Linked DNA regions of Homo sapiens: regions 1, 3 and 4 are each linked to region 2. Evidence: promoter capture Hi-C in 16 types of primary human blood cells and fetal thymus (Javierre and others, 2016). All regions are on one chromosome and are shown on one strand. Each heading gives the region's core, a stretch centred on a gene start or on the middle of the fragment in contact. The rest is flanking DNA. Distances are from core to core; before and after follow the strand shown.

Region 1 (2,700 bases), core at 55-2,554, 280 kb after region 2:
GTGCCTCCTATGCCTAGCACTTTGCGTCATTTGACACAGCCACTTGGTATATAATAGTCATTTTGTTTTGTTTTGTTTTATTTATTTATTTTGAGACAGGGTCTCACTCTGTCATCCAGGCTGGAGGGCAATGGTGCAATCACAGCTCACTGCAGGGTCTATCTCCTGGGCTCAAGTGATTCTCCCACCTCAGCCTCCTGAGTAGCTGGGACTACAGGCATGTGCCACCACGCCCAGAAAATTTTTGTATGTTTTTGTAGAGATGGGACTTCACCATGTTACTCAGGCTAGTCTCAAACTCCTGGGCTCAAGCAATTTACCTGCCTTGGCCTCACAAGATGCTGGGATTATAGGCATGAGGCACCACCCCTGGCCTATAACAGTCATTTTAAACTGAGTACTTTAAAAGTTGAACTAATTCTTCTAAATCTGTTCTCCCACAGTCTTGGCATCATCCTTGACTTCTCTTTCCTCACACCCCACGTCCAACTCATCAGCCAATGCTGTCAGTTCCATCTTCAAAATATATCCAGAATTTAACCATGTCTTAACCTCTTAATCCCAAGTCTATCACCAGGGTTCAAGCCCACATTATCTTACACCTGACTTAATGCAACAACTCCTCACTTATCCCTCTGCTTCTGTCCTCATGCAACCACCACTATCCCCAGCAATTCTGCTCTTATCATAGCAGCCCGAATGATTCTTTGATAGTATAAACAGGCTTGTGTCACTCCTCTGATGAAAACCCTCTAATGACCCCATATCTCATACAGAATAAAAGCCAGAGTCCTGACAACAGTCTACGGCGCCACCCTGAGCGGCTATGCCCTGCAGATGTCTCTGATTTCATCCGCTATCCCTCTTCTGGCTCATTCCACTTTAGCCGCCCTGGCCTCCTGGCTTCCACCTCCCACCTTAGGGCCTTTGCACTTGCTGCTTCCTCTGCCAGAGAGATGGGTGGTTCCCTCTCCATTCTTCAAGCTTCTGTTCAAATGTCACCTCACTAGAGAGGTCTTCTTAGACACATTACTTAAAATTCTACCTTGATTCCTACCCTTGTTTCTCCCCATCCACCTTCATTGCTTTATTTTTCTTTCTTTCTTTTTTTTTTTTTTGAGATGGAGTCTCGCTCTATCACCCAGGCTGGAGTGCAGTGGCGCAATCTCGGCTCACTGCAAGCTCCGCCTCCCAGGTTCACGCCATTCTCCTGCCTCAGCCTCCCGAGTAGCTGGGACTACAGACGCCCGCCACCACGCCCAGCTATTTTTTTGTATTATTAGAAGAGACGGGGTTTCACTGTGTTAGCCAGGATGGTCTCGATCTCCTGACCTCATGATCCGCCTGCCTCAGCCTCCCAAAGTGCTGGGATTACAGGCGTGAGCCACCGTGCCCGGCCCATTGCTTTATTTTTCACCATATAACTCATGATTATATAATATATTGTATATTTACTTTAAAAATTGTCTGTTTTCTCCCATTAAAAGTAAGCTCCACAGTCTCAGGAATTTTAGATGTTTTGTTCACTGCTTATTCCCCACCACCTAGCGCAGTGCCTGGCACATTGTTGGGTGAATAAATAAAAACTACAATTGTGCTTCTGTCACCTTCTCCTTATAGTTCTAAAAGCTTTGATGTGTGTGTTTTGTGGCTCTAGTAATAGAGCTTTTATTATTTCCACATGATCCTCTTTAATCACTTAATGATTTGTCTTAAATTCTATTTTGTTTTCATATTATTGTTATTATTACCAAATTATGTCTTTTCATTGTTGGAAAGACTTCAAAGAGTTTTATTTTGTTTTAGGTTCAAAGTCATGCTATCTGCTAAGAAAATAGGGTGGGAGAACAGAGCCTCTCAATGTCCTGGGAGTATTGTTTTGTCTCAGGCAAAAGTTCCTAACGTGGTGACTCATATTTAAAACCATCAGTCTTGTAGCATTAACTCATGGTTAGTAAAAACAGACACACACACACACACACACGCATGCATACACACAGACACATCTACAAACAACAAACCTTCCAGAATACAAAAGCAAAAACCCATCACAGGTGGGCAGAGCTTACCAGGGAAAGAGAACAGCTACTGCAAAAGCCCTTAGGTGGAGGTGGGCGTGGCCCTTCTGATCAGCAGAGAGAAGGCCAAGTGTGTTGGGAAAGAGAGAGAGAGAGATGGGGGGAGTTGCATGGTTGGTATTCAATGGTGGGTGAGAACCAGCTCAGGTAAGGCATTGTAGGTCAGACAAAAAAAAATTATAAATGTGATGGGAAGCCATTGAAGGGCTTAAGCAAGAGAGTGCTGTGATATGGTTTATATTTTTATTTATTTATTTATTTATTTATTTATTTATTTATTTATTGAGACAGAGTCTCGCTTTGTCTCCCAGGCTGGAGTGCAATGGTGCGATCTTGGCTCACTTCAATCCCTGCCTCCCAGGTTCAAACAATTCTCGTGTCTCAGCCTCCTGAGTAGCTAGGATTACAGGTGCCTGCCAGCACACCCGGTTAATTTTTTTTTTTTTTGTATTTTTAGTAGAGATGGGGTTTTACCATGTTGGCCAGGCTGGTCTCAAACTCCTGACCTCAAGTGATCTTCCCACCTTGGCCTCCCAAAGTGCTGGGATTACCAGCATGAACCACTGCGCCCAGCCATGGTATATTTTTAAAAACTCACTCGAGATTCTGTGTGGAGGATGGG
Region 2 (2,700 bases), core at 138-2,637:
CTCTGATTCCGGTTCGTCCACAACCCTGCCCCAGCCCAGTATCTGGTCCAGTTCTGATCTCACTTGTTTCCGCCATCCCATCCGCATCCCCGACTTCTCCCTAACCGCGGACCAGCCGGTACTCCAGGTCTGTCTCAGATCCCTCAGGGTCCGGACTGCCCAAGGCCCCGCCCCCACGGCCCCGCCATGCGGCGGCCCCGCCCCTCCCTGCCCCGCGTTACTCCTGATAGGGCCCTGACCTTGCTGGCGGCCCCGCCCCAGGACCATTCTGACTGGGCCTGGCCCGCGGTCCAGCCCTGACCCCACCCCCCGCCCGGCCCCACCTCCAGCCCGGCCCCGCCCCTTCCCCAGGCAGGCCGGGTAGCGCACCTGCAGCTCGTCGAAGGCGTCGTCGATGCCGGTGACCTGATGCTGCTCGTGCAGTGCAGGCTCGTCGCAGAAGAAGCAGAGAAGCGCGCGGTCCGTGAGGCAGAAGAGCTTGACCTTGTCGTGCGCCTGGCAGGGTCGCGCGGCGCGGCGCGCGTTGAGGATGGCGTCCAGCGGGAAGGAGCTGTAGCGCTCCACGATGTTGGCCAGCTTGAGGCTGGGCGCCAGCGCGGGCTCGGCGAACGTGCGCCGGCACTCGGGGCAGTCGCGGGCGCCCTGCGCCTCCTGCCGCACCCAGTGCTCCGTGATGCAGCGGCGGCAGAAGTAATGCTCGCAGCCCAGGCTCACCGGGTCCTGGTAGATGCTCAGGCAGATGGAGCACAGCAGCTCGTCCTTGAGGCTGCACGCCATGGCGCCAGGGGCAGCAGAGAGGGGGGCCCGAGGGGCAGGGGGGCGGCTGAGAGAGCGCGGCGCTGTCGGAGGCAGCACCGAGGGCTGGGCGCGGGGACGAGGCCCGCACAGGCAGGGGTAGGAGCTACCGGAGAAGGGAGGGGGTGCTGTCCGGAAGGAGGGTAACGCGAGGAAGGGGTGCGCGGCTGAGACTCCGTGGGACGCCAGCCCGGGAGGGCAGTCTAGAGGTAGTGGGCAGCTCAAGGCGATGGGCGCTGGGAGGAGGCTGTGAGCGGCTGAGGGACGGAGATCCTGACGGGGAGGTTCTAGGGGGCGGGGCAGTCCTAAGGGATAGGAGCTGGGAGAAGGGGATCCCGGAGCGGGGTGGAGCCCTTAAGGGGGTCGAAATCCCGGGGTGGGGGCGGTGCGGGGAGGGCGAGAAGCTGGGGATGGGGAATCCTGGGGGAGGGGGCAGCCAGGCCGAGCCGTACATTGGCTGTGACCGGCAGAGAAGAGGAGGGGTGCCGGCCCGCTCAGCTGCCGGATCCCGGCCCCAAACCCTGGCCCAGCGCGACCCCTTACCCCCGCGAGCTTAGCAGCCACCGCTTCGGTCCAGCGCAGCCTCTCAACCCGGAACCAGCCGAATCCGAGCTGCCGGTGGCCGCGGCTGCCTCCCCGCCCCCGTGGGCGGGACCCAAGCAACTCCGCCCCCGCAGCGGGCGGGGGAGGGGCGGGGCCACCAGCCGGTTGACCCCGCCCCACCCCCACCATCCTCCAGCTCCCAGGGAAGCGAAGCCCAGCTGTTCCTTCGGGGTGTGTACTTGGAACTGCATCCAGGTCTCGCTTAGGGTCCCCGCGGCGAGGCGGAGCAGCTAATTTGAGAGCACAACAAATAAACAAGGAGCATCTTTCTGGATCATCGATTTGAAGATGTAGAAAAAATCATATTTTGTATTAAAACGAACAAGAATATATTTGGAATACAACTTCTGCATAAAATATAAAGATAAAACTCTTGAAATGCCCTGCTTGCTTAGAGCGAGTTCAAGGCCCTCACACTCCTAAGCCCTGGGGTCCCATTTCCTCTTCACTTTCTTAAGGAGTGCTTGGGGAGAAGTTTGGAAAGCCCTGGCTAACATCTGGCCCCGGAGGCTGCCTCCATTGGCAAACAATTCTGGAGTGCTGTATTTGTGTGTGTGTGTGTGTGTGTGTGTGTGTGTGTGTAAGGCGGTGAGGGGTGGAGCAGGAGAGAGGGAGAAAAAGTAATAGGAGAACTTGTCTTGTGTGCCAGATGGAGAGGGGATAAGGGATTTCTAGGCAGAGGAGACAGCCTGTGCAAAAGCATAGAGGCGTGAAAGGGGAGGGCGCAGTGAAGGAAGTGCTAGTAATTCTGTACTGTTGGGGGTGGGGTGGAGAAGGAGCCTGGGTGGGCTGGAGGGCATTGTGGGTCATGGTAAAGAATTTCTTGAAGGCATGGGGCTTTCAGGCAAGGGAATGACCTGGTCCGATTGGGTTTCAGGAAGTCTTGGAGATAATCATTATACCATCTGCAAGGTGAAGAAGACAGGGAGCTTTTCCAATGTGTCTGCGGATGCACAGCACTCAGCACACAGTAAAGGTGTGTAGCTGAATAACCGCATCAACGCCCTGGGTTGCAGGAGGAAGGAAAGACTGGGCACCCCTAAGGTGCTGTTGTCATCGTGCCTGCAGGAGGTGAGACCCGAACTGGGGCCTCAGCAGTGGGTAAGGAGAGAAGACTAGGGTATTGCAAGTACAGACACGGTGACATTTGGTGATGGTTGGATACGGGGGTGAGGGAAATGAGCCATAGAGGGTGGCTACCAGTTTCTGCCTCCTCCAGAAATATCTTCATTGGTGTTAAACTTTATTGAGGTACAGTTTATGAAAAAGCTCTCAGTTTAGTTCTCTATGGTTAACACTTTC
Region 3 (2,700 bases), core at 89-2,588, 430 kb after region 2:
GGCATCAGTCATTTCAGAGCTCCACTGGAGTTCATTTTATTTTGTTGAAAACAAAGTTCAGGGTCAACACTTGTTTAAATTTATGATTCATATGTCCAATATCAGCATAAAGATAGTTTTGCTAGAATAAACTTTTCATTTAAAAATAACACCCCCAATACTTAATCAAAAGACAAGACCTTCAATACTGCTGTTTTCTAGAACTCTTATGATAATTCAGAAACGTAGGGCTTAGAAGTATACATTGTCCCCTCTGTTCCATAAAGAAGCCAAATAAAGTTTCTACTTTGGGATCTTAGTGAGTTAATCAAGACATTCTAGCAACCTGACAGGTTAAATAAATCTAATTAAGTTCTTAATGTACATAGTAATATACTCTTTCAAGAACGAAGGTGGGAACATTTATGTTTGTTTACTGATAAGATTTTTCAAAATTAGATCACCATGGAAAATGTTATTGAAGAAATATATTTACTGAGCATAGGAAAAAGCCCATATTGCATTGATAATTGTAAAAATCAGATGACAAATAGTATGCTGTATACAATTCTAATTTTTGTATTATAAAACATGGAAGAATATTAATTTGCCTGCTAGGAATATTTGCTGGGCATTTGCTGTACATCAGGGCTGTGCTAGGCATTGTACAGGATGAGCAAGATCAAGAAGGTCCTTGTCTTCATGAGACTTACATGGTAACGCTGGGAGACTAAGCCATTAGTGATTATCGCTGCACGATGAGATTATAGATGGATTTTCATTTTTAAAATTGGCTTATCTGTGCTATCAAATAAGCTCAGAATAAGCACGAGTATAATTCTTTTTGCATCTGATCATTTAAAGAATAAAATAAAGACTCGACACTTAATGTTGAAGATCTTTCATCTCCTGCCCTGTTCCATTCCTTTCCTGCCCTCCACAGAAGCAATCACATGAATTTGGAAGCTATCCTTCCAGTTCATGGTTTTGGATTCTTAAATATGTATCTGGGTTTATGTGTTTTCAAGATTTACATAAATGATATTATACTGTACATACAGTTTTTTACATAATATTGTGTTTTTCAAGGTCTATCCATGTTAATATACAAAAATATAGTTCATTCATTTTAACTGCATGTTAATTCCATTTTATGAATTATCCAACCATACAGTTCACTCCCCAACTCATGAACATGCAGATTGTTTCCAAGTTGCAGATAATTTTGTGATGGTTTTTTTTTTTTTTTTTGAGACAGAGTCTTGTTCGGTCGCCCGGGCTGGAGTGCAGTGGCACGATCTTGGCTCACTGCAAGCTCCGCCTCCCGGGTTCACACCATTCTCCTGCCTCAGCCTCCCAAGTAGCTGGGACTACAGGCACCCGCCACCAGGCCCAGCTAATTTTTTGTATTTTAGTAGAGACGGGTTTTCACCGTGTTAGGCTGTGATGACATCTTTGTATACATTATCTGAGGAGCCTGTGCTTTCCATTCCACTGCCCAGGCATCGTCCCCTCATATAGGAGCCCTGCGGGCTGCAGGCCCACAGAAGGGGCTCTTTAAGGATGGCGGAATTTCTGACTTGAACTCCAAGGAAAGAACTGGACTGTGACCGCCATCTAGTGGAGCAGCATGTAGCTGCAGCAGCTCTTTACACGCTGAGACCAGGTACCAAGTTAGGGACCTCGGCAGAATCCAACATTAACTTGAAAGCAAGGGATCCCGGGCCTTTGCAACTGGACCCAGCAGTAGCTTCTTCCCTGAAACCTGAATTAGCACCCAGAATTTAGAGGTGAAAATGGTGGCTGAACATAAGGACTTACAGGGAAAGCCACCTCATTCAAACTTCTGTTTGCCTTTGGATGTTGCCCTCCCCACCTTCTATCATCTTGGTTCTGCCTCAAGACTGGATGCAGAGGTACAGGGTCTCCCAGATCCTCTTAATGTCTCAAAGTCTGGAGTCTCCTAAGACTGCCGAGGGCGTCATCGCTTTGCTCCCAGTTTCCTTCAGAAGATGGTACTGAACACCCAGTTTCCTTCAGAAGATGGTACTGAACAGAAAATAACATCTTTCAGAGGGCCACCAAGCTCTCTCCTCCCCTCCAACCGGATTTAGAGAAGGCCAGTTAGACTGCTTTCTCCCAAAAGCCCCTTCCCTAATCTCTAATCACACTCCAGGCTGAATAATGAAGGATAAAATGGGAGATCTTCATTTCTGAGGCTCACAGACTGGCATTCAGGGCTATGCAGGCATAATCCCCTTGGGACATTTCATTCCTAGAAGCAGTGCAATGGCTTGGGCAAGATGACCCGTGCGTACGGCCCATCAGTTCCATGTCAGCACAAAGCCCTCATCCCTTCAACAGAGACATTTGGGTTAAATGATATTCCCAGTGCATAATATGTGGATCACCAGCAATTACATTTTGTACCCACACTGATGTCCTCCACACCCTGACAACCTCCCATGCCTAGCATACTCCAGCTCCAAAAACAAAACAAAACAAAAATAACCCCCCAAAACCAAAAAAACAACCTTCCCAGTCTCTAGGCCAGCTAGAATGTGCATACGAAGAAGAATGCAAACTCGATTTCTCATTGATTTGGCTCAATTTAATTAGGATGATAAATTAGACACTGGGGTTAAAAGTACAACTTGAGGTCCAGTCTCTGTACGACAGATTTCCGCCCCACCCCCGCCTTTTTTTTTAAGTCCCTGAGTA
Region 4 (2,700 bases), core at 52-2,551, 380 kb after region 2:
GTTCTCATTATTTTATGGCCCCATCCCATATATAAAAAGCCAAAAGAAGAATTAAAATAAAAAAACTGCCTTACAAAAATTAAGAAGGAAAACTTGCACTTTACATAAAGGCTCACTTTAGGGAAATTTAAAAAGTGAAGAATTATCCAAATTACTTCCAGGCAGCTAAGCATAACAGTGATTGCCTAAATCAAAAAAATGCAGATTAACCAGAAGAATAAATAATAGAAAACCCAGGCCTGCAGCCTAACTAGAAGCCAGAGAGTGCTACAAACTTTAAATTACATGTAAGAGAAATATACACTAAGCCCAGGCAGAGTTACTTCTCATGGTTCTGTTGCAAGCTTTTGTGGAGAGCAAGACTGTATGAGAAAGAGAAGAGAGGAGCAGGTGAAGGGCTTAACACTGATCTAAAATCACTGCCAGAAGGAGAAAATCCATCTCATATATGAATATACTGAAAACAAATCTTGGTATGTCAATGTACAACCACAGAAAAGGGACATAAAAGTGTGTGTGATTCTCCCTCATTGCTTCTGGAAGAAAAGAAAGTGACATCCTCTGAGTGATAAAGGGAATAAGAAGCAATGATGGGAAAACCTGGGGTTCTGCAAGACAAAAGAAAAACACGCAAACAAACAAAAATGAAGGACACACAACCTCTTCCTTACCACACACAAAACCTTATATTAAAAAAAATAAATAAACAAAACAAAGGCAAACATCCAAGATAATCAAAATGAGATAAAGAAGTAAAAACAATCAGAGAGAAAGACTTTGTAACACTGACAGAAGAGGGTACTACTAAACCACACTAAAGCCATAAAATGAATAGAAGACATCAACCTAAATGTATACGAAGCTACTTTAAGAAAAAAATAGAAAAGAATTCAAGAATTTCATCTGATGAAAACCTCCTCACCAAAAACAAAACATGTGAAGCGTAAGAAAAATGTAGCAGCATTCTAAACTGAACTAAATATTCTCAAATAAGCATCTGGAGATATTTTAAAAACCACCATGAAAATCAGAAAATCAAAAACTAAACAGCACAAATGGACAAAAGGTGGAAGAATATAAAAGATAACTGATTGTATGCTTTAAAGAGATAAAAGAAAAAGACAAAACCATCTGAGAAATGAAGACTAAATTATAAGAGGCCCAAGAAAGAATATTCTCAAATGATAATTTAATAAGAGTTACTCAAGAAAGTCAGGCAAAAAACCAAGGGAATTAAAATGAGATAAAGAGGTGAAAATAATGAGAGAGAGGCTGAGAGAGAAGATAGGCAAAGAAGATTCAACATACACATAATCAGAGCTGATGAAGAAGAAAAAAAAAACAGTGGGAAACAAAGCAATATCAGTGTTTAAAACCATAATCCAAGAAAAGTCTTTGGAAATAAAGAAAGACCTGAATCTATATATTCAAAGACCCATAGAATACCTAAGGAAATTGTCTTGGAATAATTAACTCTGAAGCATGTCCTAGTAAAAATATTAGACTTTAGGATAAAGGGAAAAATAATCAGGAACCTCAAAAAAAAAAAACAACCAAATAACCTATAAGAAAAATAGAATTAAACTAATATTATAATTCCAAAAGTCAAATACGTAGAAACAGAGAGCAGAATGGTGGTTACCATGGGTGGAGAAGTGGGGGAAATGGGAGACGGCAAAATTAAGACCGAACATATCAGTCATATTAATATATGTGAATGAGTTTAACTAACCAACTAAAAGAAAAAGATGGTTAAGTTAGCTTATAAGGCAATTTATACTGCATACAAGAATCACACCTAAGAGAAGCAGAAGGCTAAAATAGAATGGTCAAAGGTGCATCAGGCAAAAGAATTAAAGCAGGGGTTGTAAGCCTAATATCAAGCAAAGTACAATTCTAGCTAAAAAATGTTAAAAGTGACAAAAAAGTAATCTTTAAAGGCTAAAAACCACAATGTGCAATGGAGATACTAGTTATGAATATCTATGCACCAAATAAGACAGCAACCATCTTTATAGAACAGAAACTACAGGAAGTGCAAGGAAAAACAGAAACACACTAATAATAGAAAACTTTAAACACATCTCTCAGAATAAAACAGATTGAGTGGGTGAAAAGTAAGAATGTAAAGGACATAGACAACATAATCAATCAGATATATCTCATGAATATATAAATAAAACATGACATCCTAATATCCTTTCTTCTCAAGTGCACATGGGACATTCATAACAACTGACCAACTATTAGGTCACAAAGAAAGCTTCAGTCAATTCCATGAAGTAGAAATATTACATACAATGCAATAAAATTAGAAATGAATAACACAATGAAAAAAAAGGGCCTTCCACCTAGAAACAAATCCTTCTATTAAAAATTTTCTATGTAAAAGGGGAAATCAATACCAAAATTACAGAATTTCTAATAAATAATAAACATTTATTATTAGACTCTATAGGATACAATTAAAGCAGTGATCAGAGGAAATTTCATAGTCTTAAGCACTTATAGCAATAAAACTCAATAGAAATGAAAGAATGAAAATAAATGAATTAAATTCCTACTCAAAAGCTAGAAAATGAACAAAAATGTAAACCAAAAGAAATCACAAGGAAGGAAATAATAAAGGTGAAAACAGTGATTAATGATGCAGAGAACTGAAAACATTAGATCAACAATGCTTTCAGTTTTGAAAAAAAA

What was found. Contacts are between HindIII fragments. The CHiCAGO score rates a contact against its expected background, and 5 or more counts as called.
Region 1: a fragment that was not itself captured here is called in contact with the fragment with the promoter of TRIM62 in region 2 in 1 of 17 cell types (endothelial precursors); the score reaches 6.0 in endothelial precursors.
Region 3: a contact is called between a fragment that was not itself captured here and the fragment with the promoter of TRIM62 in region 2, in 1 of 17 cell types (M0 macrophages). The highest score is 5.8, in M0 macrophages.
Region 4: a fragment that was not itself captured here is called in contact with the fragment with the promoter of TRIM62 in region 2 in 1 of 17 cell types (M2 macrophages); the score reaches 6.4 in M2 macrophages.

Annotation. Positions count from the first base shown.
Region 1 is chr1:33,456,810-33,459,509 of GRCh38, forward strand. No RefSeq gene overlaps it. Among named protein-coding and RNA genes, the nearest start is that of ZSCAN20, 14 kb to the right of the region's middle. The HindIII fragment of the contact is 645 bases long and covers 983-1,627 here.
Region 2 is chr1:33,180,656-33,183,355 of GRCh38, forward strand. It overlaps TRIM62 (tripartite motif containing 62), which reads right to left and starts at 1,388. Exons shown (of 5, transcript NM_018207.3): 1 at 370-1,388. The coding sequence starts at 777. It also overlaps a transcript of ZNF362 not described here. RefSeq lists an enhancer at 1-80 and silencers at 163-362, 953-1,022, 1,253-1,562. The HindIII fragment of the contact is 3,969 bases long and covers 1-2,700 here.
Region 3 is chr1:33,611,470-33,614,169 of GRCh38, forward strand. All of the region lies in intron 40 of CSMD2 (CUB and Sushi multiple domains 2), which reads right to left. Among named protein-coding and RNA genes, the nearest start is that of ZSCAN20, 140 kb to the left of the region's middle. The HindIII fragment of the contact is 3,817 bases long and covers 1-2,700 here.
Region 4 is chr1:33,564,769-33,567,468 of GRCh38, forward strand. The region is part of intron 53 of CSMD2 (CUB and Sushi multiple domains 2); the gene reads right to left. Among named protein-coding and RNA genes, the nearest start is that of ZSCAN20, 93 kb to the left of the region's middle. The HindIII fragment of the contact is 1,919 bases long and covers 343-2,261 here.